Regions from separate parts of the Homo sapiens genome. Here all the other regions are linked to region 1. Evidence: promoter capture Hi-C in human tissues and cell types (Jung and others, 2019). All regions are on one chromosome and are shown on one strand. The core of a region is centred on a gene start or on the middle of the fragment in contact, and the rest is flanking DNA. Distances in the headings are between cores, read along the strand shown. Region 1 holds the start of OLIG1 (oligodendrocyte transcription factor 1). Region 2 overlaps LOC105377136 (a long non-coding RNA gene). Region 3 has its middle 28 kb from the start of LINC01548.

Evidence for each region. Contacts are between HindIII fragments. The study calls those that stand out against the background at their distance.
Region 2: a fragment that was not itself captured here is called in contact with the fragment with the promoter of OLIG1 in region 1 in 1 of the 25 tissues and cell types used here (lymphoblastoid cells).
Region 3: a fragment that was not itself captured here is called in contact with the fragment with the promoter of OLIG1 in region 1 in 1 of the 25 tissues and cell types used here (hippocampus).

Annotation. Positions count from the first base shown.
Region 1 is chr21:33,068,649-33,071,622 of GRCh38, forward strand. It overlaps OLIG1 (oligodendrocyte transcription factor 1), which reads left to right and starts at 1,493. Exons shown (of 1, transcript NM_138983.3): 1 at 1,493-2,974. The coding sequence starts at 1,599. The coding sequence ends at 2,414. The HindIII fragment of the contact is 10,124 bases long and covers 1-2,974 here.
Region 2 is chr21:32,919,639-32,922,612 of GRCh38, forward strand. All of the region lies in intron 4 of LOC105377136 (a long non-coding RNA gene), which reads left to right. Among named protein-coding and RNA genes, the nearest start is that of LINC01690, 38 kb to the right of the region's middle. RefSeq lists an enhancer at 1-169. The HindIII fragment of the contact is 7,002 bases long and covers 1-2,974 here.
Region 3 is chr21:33,197,033-33,200,006 of GRCh38, forward strand. No RefSeq gene overlaps it. Among named protein-coding and RNA genes, the nearest start is that of LINC01548, 28 kb to the left of the region's middle. The HindIII fragment of the contact is 3,160 bases long and covers 1-2,974 here.

The sequences.
Region 1 (2,974 bases), core at 243-2,742:
TACATAACACAATAGGCTATGAAGAAATCCTATCAATGGTTTGCCAAGAGTCATGAAAGGAGGAAGAGGAGAAATCACCAAGGCTTCCAGAAGAAAGCAAGGTTGGAGCTGAACCTGAGGCATAGGCAGGATGCTACAGGCAGAGCTGGGGGTCAGAAGCAAAGATCAGAGTGAACCCATGTGGCAAATATTGGTGGAAGAAAACCAGAACAAAGCAGCCCTGAAACCAGCAAGCACAGCCACCAAGATGCCCTCTTCCCCAGGACATTGACAAGTTATAGTAGCATGCACTGGTGCTGGGGGCAGAAAATGTCCATAGACACCAAGTAATGCTATTCTATTTGGCAAATAAAATGATTCATTCCCACCCTCAACCGATAGGACTATGTGGGTGTTTTGTTTTGTTTCTAATAAGAGGCCAATTTCTGAGTGACTTTTGCTTAAGCAAATGTCAAGTTGCTGATAGACCATCCCTTTCGGGGAGGATAGAAACCCGACCCAAAGGCTCCTTTGTCCCTAAAGACCTTTCAATCAGAGGGATGGGGAAGGAGGTTGGGAGCAGCAGGGAGGAAATATCCTAATGCTACTTGTCATTTAGTCCAGAAATTTAGCGACCTGAACCTGGCAGGAAATTATGTATTTTAAGAAAAAAAAAACATGATACACTCATGTTCATAGCAGCATAATTCGCAACAACCAAAAGCACCCCAAATGTCCATCAACGAATGAATGGATAAACCAAATGTGGTATATCCATATACTGGAATATTATTCAGCCTTGAAAAGGAAGAAACTTTGATACATGCTACAACATGGATAAACCTTGACGACAATATGCTAAGTGAAAGAAGCCAGTCACTAAAAGACAAGTGCTGTATGATTCTACTTATATGAGGGACCTAGAGTAGAACAAATTCATAGAGACAGAACAGAAGAGTGAATTCCAGGAACTTGGGTCGGGGGGAGTGGGGAGTTGTTTAATGGGTGGAGCTTCAGGGTTGCAAGTTGAAAAGAGTTCTGGAGATGGGTTGCACAACAATGTGAATTTAATTTAAATCAATTTAATGTGCACACTAATGCATATAACATTACTGAACAGTACTCTAAACATAAGACGGTAAATTTTATGTTATGAATATGTGATCACAGTTAAAAAAAAATATGAGGGAGGTTGTTTTTGAGTAGACAGTTGCTGGAGGAAGGCACGTGAGTTGCAGCCTGACCAGTGCGACCAGTCCTCCTTCAACAGCCCCGCTTGCCTTGAAAAGGCGCCCTTACTCCGCTCAGGGGGCCTGTCCCGCGCGGCTGGCACAGGCGCTCACAATAACCTCCTAAAGCGGTGCCAGCCGCACCTCCGCGCGGCCCCGGCACAAGCAGCCAATGAACACGCGGCTGCGCCCGGCCTCGCGCCTCCATTGGCTGCGCCCCGCCACCCGCTGCCCCGCAGGTTCCCAAGCCGGGTTTAAAGGGGTAGGGCGCGGGCCAGGGCCCCACCATCGTTTCCCCGCGCGCAGGTCCGCGGGGAGGGGCGGCCTGCCGACCGGCCCACCCCAGGGCGTTCCTGAAGGGCGTCCTCGGCCGCCCCCACCGCCTCCCAGATGTACTATGCGGTTTCCCAGGCGCGCGTGAACGCGGTCCCCGGGACCATGCTGCGGCCACAGCGGCCCGGAGACTTGCAGCTCGGGGCCTCCCTCTACGAGCTGGTGGGCTACAGGCAGCCGCCCTCCTCCTCCTCCTCCTCCACCTCCTCCACCTCCTCCACTTCCTCCTCCTCCACGACGGCCCCCCTCCTCCCCAAGGCTGCGCGCGAGAAGCCGGAGGCGCCGGCCGAGCCTCCAGGCCCCGGGCCCGGGTCAGGCGCGCACCCGGGCGGCAGCGCCCGGCCGGACGCCAAGGAGGAGCAGCAGCAGCAGCTGCGGCGCAAGATCAACAGCCGCGAGCGGAAGCGCATGCAGGACCTGAACCTGGCCATGGACGCCCTGCGCGAGGTCATCCTGCCCTACTCAGCGGCGCACTGCCAGGGCGCGCCCGGCCGCAAGCTCTCCAAGATAGCCACGCTGCTGCTCGCCCGCAACTACATCCTACTGCTGGGCAGCTCGCTGCAGGAGCTGCGCCGCGCGCTGGGCGAGGGCGCCGGGCCCGCCGCGCCGCGCCTGCTGCTGGCCGGGCTGCCCCTGCTCGCCGCCGCGCCCGGCTCCGTGCTGCTGGCGCCCGGCGCCGTAGGACCCCCCGACGCGCTGCGCCCCGCCAAGTACCTGTCGCTGGCGCTGGACGAGCCGCCGTGCGGCCAGTTCGCTCTCCCCGGCGGCGGCGCAGGCGGCCCCGGCCTCTGCACCTGCGCCGTGTGCAAGTTCCCGCACCTGGTCCCGGCCAGCCTGGGCCTGGCCGCCGTGCAGGCGCAATTCTCCAAGTGAGGGCGGGCCTGGGCCTGGGGCGCGACCTCGGCCCGGCCTCCCTTCGCTCAGCTTCTCCGCGCCCCTGCTCCCTGCGTCTGGGAGAGCGAGGCCGAGCAAGGAAAGCATTTCGAACCTTCCAGTCCAGAGGAAGGGACTGTCGGGCACCCCCTTCCCCGCCCCCACCCCTGGGACGTTAAAGTGACCAGAGCGGATGTTCGATGGCGCCTCGGGGCAGTTTGGGGTTCTGGGTCGGTTCCAGCGGCTTTAGGCAGAAAGTGCTCGCTCTCACCCAGCACATCTCTCTCCTTGTCCCTGGAGTTGCGCGCTTCGCGGGGCCGATGTAGAACTTAGGGCGCCTTGCCGTGGTTGGCGCGCCCCGGGTGCAGCGAGAGGCCATCCCCGAGCGCTACCTCCCCGGAGCGGAGCACGCCGGCTCCCAGTACTAGGGGCTGCGCTCGAGCAGTGGCGGGGGCGGAGGGGTGGTTCTTTTCCTTCTCCTCCGCCAGAGGCCACGGGCGCCCTTGTTCCCGCCGGCCAGGTCCTATCAAAGGAGGCTGCCGGAACTCAAGAGGCAGAAA
Region 2 (2,974 bases), core at 165-2,664, 150 kb before region 1:
CATGGCTCTGACATTGGAGACATATATTGCTAAACTAATAGGCTGGCTGGCCATTAGGAGATCACGACCTCGGCTCTTATCTTTTGTCAAGTTAACAGCTGACACCTCCTCTGCATGTAGACTTTCTTCTAGGCCTAAGGTAGATGCTGCTCCTCTAGCTAAGCTGGTGAGCTGAAGGCAGGCAGGAAACCAGTGCAGTTGGGCTTAAGGAGCTGACGCAGAGTCCCTCGGAAGCATGGTTCTTTCCATATTGGTTGAACTTTCTCTGCACAAATCTATGGTCCAAATCTATGAGTGAGGCAGATAAGGCTCTCACCTGAGTGACCCTGAGCAGGTCCCCTTAATCCCTGGCTCTGTTTCCTTATTCATATTTATTTTATTTTTAGAGACAGAGTCTCTCTCTGTTGCCCAGGCAGGAGTGCTGTGGTGTGATCATGGCTCACTGTAACTTCAAACTCCTGGGCTCATGTGATCCTTTGGCCTCAGCCACTGGTGTAGCTGGGACCACAGGCATGTGCTGCCATGGCTGGTTAATTTTCAGAATTTTTTTTGTAGAGATGGGGTCTCGCTATGTTGCCCAGGCTGGTCTTGAACTTTTGGGCTCATGTGATCCTCCTGCCTCTGCCTCCCACAGTGTTGGGATTACAGGCGTGAGCCACTGCACTCAGCTCTTTATTTATAAAATGTGATTGGACTGGGATTTCGCCTTGCCTTTTCCATTCTAGAAAGGACTTCAGCACAAAATAAGAGTAAAATCCTCATGGAATTTGCCATCTGGTTGAAAAGAAAAACTAGTGGCTGAAAATAGTCACGAAGAATTCAAGAACACAGTATAGTGTGTTACCTAGAATTATAAGAAGAATTTAAAAAAGGGAGACATTGGGGATTTGTAAGGGCTCCAGGCCAATTCCCTGAAATCAGCTGGGCCTGAGTGGGTGGAGCAGACGCAGGGAGAGGGCGGAGCTTCTGCCGACCTTGCAGAGTGAGTAGGATGGAAGGGCAGGAGGAGGTCCAAGCGACAAAGGCAGGCATGAGCATGGGGCCTGCATGCGTCTGGGTGTATGTGGACAGTGGGATGGGAGCTACCTGTGATCAGACCTGCTACATGGAGGCAAGCTGGGGGGTGCAAAGCCAGAGGAGACAGATGTGCAGGGGCAGAGGCAAGAGACATTTGGTGAGTGCAGAGGCCACAGCAATCTGGCTTTTTATCTCAGTGACTCTAAGGTCTGTCTTCAGGCTGATGGATGTGACAGCATGCCATCACTCGACAGATATTTACTGAGGTTCCCTCTTTGCTTGAGGAACTGTGGGGAATACAAAAATCAGAATATTCTGGACCTGCCCTCAGGGAGTTTATAATCGAGTCATTCCTTCAACTAATATTTCTTCAAGGACCTCTCTTTGCCAGGCTCTGCTAAGAATAATGGCAAATAATGGTTTCTTGGTCCCAGCCCTCGTGAGTTTATGGTCAAAGAGAAGAGACAGGCATATTATTTGACTAACTCCATTTCAAGTCAGACTGTGATGAATGTTGTGGCCAAGGTGGGAACAGAGACTTGTAGGAACACAGATAAGGGTGTGCTTAAGTCTGTCTGTGAGAATCACAGAAACTTCCAGGCACCTTCAAGGGCTCTAGAGCAGCACTGTCCAGTAGAACTTGCTGGAATGACAGGAATGTTCTTTACCTGCATTGTCCAGTGTGGTAGCCACATATGGCTGTTGAGCACTTGAGATGTGGCTAGAGTGACTGAGAAGCTGAATTCCTCATTTTAATCCATTGGAATTTAAATAGTCACATGTGATTAGTGGCCACCATATTGGATAGTGCAGCTGTAAAATGGTTAATAAAATGGTAGTGCAGATGACATGACTGGTGGTGCGATTTATGTGGAATGACATGTCTTCTTCCTTACAAAGGGCACTTTCCTTCTGTGCAAGGGTAGCAACATCCTAGAAGCCAGAGAAATAGCTGTTCCTTCAGTAATGCTATATCCCTTTGACCAACATCTCACTATCTTCATAGGCCACACACAGTGGGTGTATTGATTGATGCTGGCATAGACACACTGATAGGTAAAAAATGAAAAAGAATTTTAGATATAGAACGTCTTTTCTCCTCTTCTCTTCTAGTCTGAGTTCAAATCTCTCCTCTTCTGGCAATGTTTGGTCTTCCCTGGACCATCTTGGAGAGCTGAGAACCCTAAAAGCAGCACCAGCCTGCCCACCAGGGGGCAGCGCACGCACCATGAGGTTGTTCACTGGGCTTATCAAGATCTATCTGGCTAGGGTTGTTTTCCAAGGATTGGGAAGAATCGCTTCGGTCCTTCTTTGGAATTTGCTCTGAAGTCTTCTTCCCTTCATTGCTCCTGTTAGATGCTCCACAACAAGTGAAGAAATGAGGAAATAGATTTCTCTTCCCACATTAAAGCAAAGTTAATAAAATGGTCATGGGCACTGGAGAAGTCTTTGGCTTTGGTTTTGTTTATGCGATCATTTTTATGATAAAGATAGGAAAGGAAGAGTCCCAAAGCCAAGGCCATTGAGAGGAGATGAGTGGGGATTTCCACTCAAGGATGGCGAGTTGAATGCAGGGGTTAGCCTCCAGTCCCTCCTGAAACCCCACTAAAGCAACAACAGGGGAGGTATTTTGGAAGACATATAAACCTACGGAATGAAGAGAACAGAAGCAATGATAATAGCAATAAAATCTGAAAGTTTGGAAAGCAAATGTAAGTTTGGTAACTGTGATGGTGAATATTAGGTGTCAACTTGATGGGATTGAGGGTGGCTGGTAAGGTATTGTTTCTGGATGTGTCTGTGAGGGTATTGCCAGAGGAAATTGACATTGAAGTTGGTGGGCTGGGAGAGGAAAACCCACCCTTTATGTGGGTGGGCACCATCCAATCAGCTGCCAGCAAGGCTAGAGCAGAGCAGACGCAGAAGGAGAAGGTGCAATGAGCTGGCTTGCTGAAGC
Region 3 (2,974 bases), core at 278-2,777, 130 kb after region 1:
TTCCTTGAGAAACAGCGCCACCTTCAGGTCATAATAACCATAAGAGAGCTGACCGTGAAGGTGCTTCTCCGGCAGGAGCGATTTGCCCTGATCCACAGAAACCCTTCCCCCGCAGTCCTCTGGGATGCGGTCACACACTTGTGAGTCTGCCGCTGGGTTAAGATCAATGCGTATGGACATGGAGCCAAGCTGAGCTAACTGGCCCACAAGGGACAGATGCATGACCTTGGCCTAATTATCACAGCTCCAGCTAACAGTTCGCCCACAGCAAAGCTCCTTGTGGAACCCTATAAAGAAGGAAAGGAAGCGAGGGATATGCTGGATGAACTAAACTCTACAAAACAATGAAAATGGACACACCTCTTCTTCAGGCAATTCCACTTAAGATAGTTTCCAGCTGTTCTTATTTTAGCAAGATATCTACTTGGATATACTTTCATTAAGAAAAATGACATAGTGAACTCTGAAGTAAATATCAGATTTTTTTCACCCAGCAAATATTTATTGAGCAACCAACCACTTGAATGCCAGCACCGTGCTAAAAGCTCTCACAAAATTACTTTTATTGAATTTCCACAACAGCCCTTGTGAGAGAGGAATTCATATCTTCATTTTTCAACACAAGGAAGTTGAGAATGAGAGAGGCCCAGAAACAGCAGATCTGGCAACAAGCTTGAATATGCAGACACAAACATTCCACACAGTCCTCCTCTGAGGACACGACGCAACTGCTCCTTTTCAAGAGCTTATCACTTGGCACAGTGTGGCACCAACTGCAATCAGCAGTGCAGAGGCAAAGGCCGCTAGGGAACTCAGTTTATTTCTCTGCAGTGTGATCTGTATGCAGAAAATGGCCCTATCTTTGCCAGCCATCCTCTGCCATACCTCCCTAACCCACTGATGGATGCTGGGCAGGATAAGGGGGATAAGTTAATTTGTTCCTAAGTGTCTAAACAAGGATCCTTCTTAGAAACAGTGGATATTTAAGGTTGTCCCTTTGATCACATCCCAACAATCCCTAAATTCCATAGGCTTTCTTGGTTGGGAAAGAGGCAGAGCAACTGCTACCCATGGGAATGCATCATATTTGGAAATATAATGTTTCCTGTGCATTACAGAGGAGAGAAGTGGGAAGCATCGCCCGGTGCTGGAGGTACTCCAGCTACAGGTGGTACCCTCTATATCTTACTCTTTCCCGTACCTACATATGTGTAGTCAACTCCAGTTGATGAGATCAGGTTTTCAATTCTTTGTACCCCCCCACTGCACTTTGCAAAATACTGGCACATAAATTTAAAGTTACTAAATATTTGCTGGTGTGTTAGGAAAAACACATAGTCTGCATGCAGAAAACAGGAATTATACAAACTAGCATGATCAGACATATTTAAGATGTCAGCTGAGTTACTCTAGGGCAGAGCCCAAGGATGAAGCTTGGCTGAGGGAGGATAGGGGAAGTGCCTTGGGACCTTTAGATTATGGGTGGAAGGAACAAAAGACCCACATGGAACAAGACACTAGAGTTGGATTGACCCTTTGGGGAAGGAGAAGTTACGATATGACATCTAAACCGCAAGGAAGATGCCAGAAAAAGAAAGAATAATATATTGTGTAAGCAAGCAATTTCTTAATTTTAAACGTGTTTTTATATTCAGGTGAAATTGTTTTATTCAAGGTTGAATGACTACTAAGTTGCAGCTAATCAGAAGTTGAGAAAGAAATGCTTGGCAGTTGGAATCCAGTTTTTGCACATAATCAGAACCAGTACTGTCAGTTTCATGGCGTCTCAAAAGCTAAGACTGAGAAGGAAAAAGGGAACAGAGCCGGCCTTGTCACACCACAGACGGGAGCAGAAGTGCAGAACTGTCCCCATGGCATGTGTTCAAAAGAGTATCGTGTAGCAAACCCTAACCACAGCAGCAGTGGCTGAGCTAATCCTGGCTGGATCCCAGTAAGGCCCTTCTCGAGTCCCAGCAATGACGATGGTAGATTAGCAATCTCTTCTCAATGTGTCAATATCATCTATGTTTCTACCCTGCTAGCCTCCTCTTTTCCTTCTTTCTACCCCACCCTCAATTAACCATGCCTCCTCTTACAATTTCTAGTCTGCAAGAGACTAGGACAATAGAGAATCAAAAACTAGGGTAGAAACACAGAGGCTGCTGTGGTTAGCGCTTGCTGCGTGATAGATAGGTTTGGTTTTGTAGCAATAACACAAGGCGGAAAGTGATAGAAAATTCAACATTCTAACTGCAATTCACCAAATCTTATCTCCAGACTTGCGGTGTTTATAGTTTCAGCAACACAACCTGACTGCCAGGAGGAGAGTGAGGATAATAGCATGAATCCGACTGACAAGGAATATGTCTTGGAGAGCCGTGAACCATACCAGGAAGAGATTTTTTGCTTATAAGAGCATATTTGTTTGTGGGCTCTTTCCAGGAGCAATAGACTAAGTTGAAGATGTTTTATAAAAAGATAGTTTTATAGAACAGATATTAGGAAACTATTTTTTTATGATGACACACGGATCTTCAGCCTTGAGACTGTATCTTCCAGCCTGGTTGATCCTTCTGCACTGGTTGGTACACAGTCACTTCCCTGAATGTCCCCATCTCAATCCTCCCCACACTACCCTGTCCACTGAGTCCCACCCCAGGACCATCCCCAGCCCAGCCTCACAGTCCAGCATCCACAGGGTTAATGGCAGACACAGTAGAGAGCCGCAACAGTTGCTAAATATTGTCAATATCAACCCTGATTACAGGCGATCGATTCTACAAAGAACTCTACAAAGATTCTACATTCTTTATTCTATATAGATTCTGTAAAAGAAGAATCTAAGCACTTTGTTCTGCACCGTCCAAACATGAGTCATTGTTTTCAGGGCATCATTTGGCTTTTAACACAAAGACCCAGCAGAGGGAGCCGTTTCCTAACATGAAAGGAGCTATAGGCCCTGCTAAGACAGCAA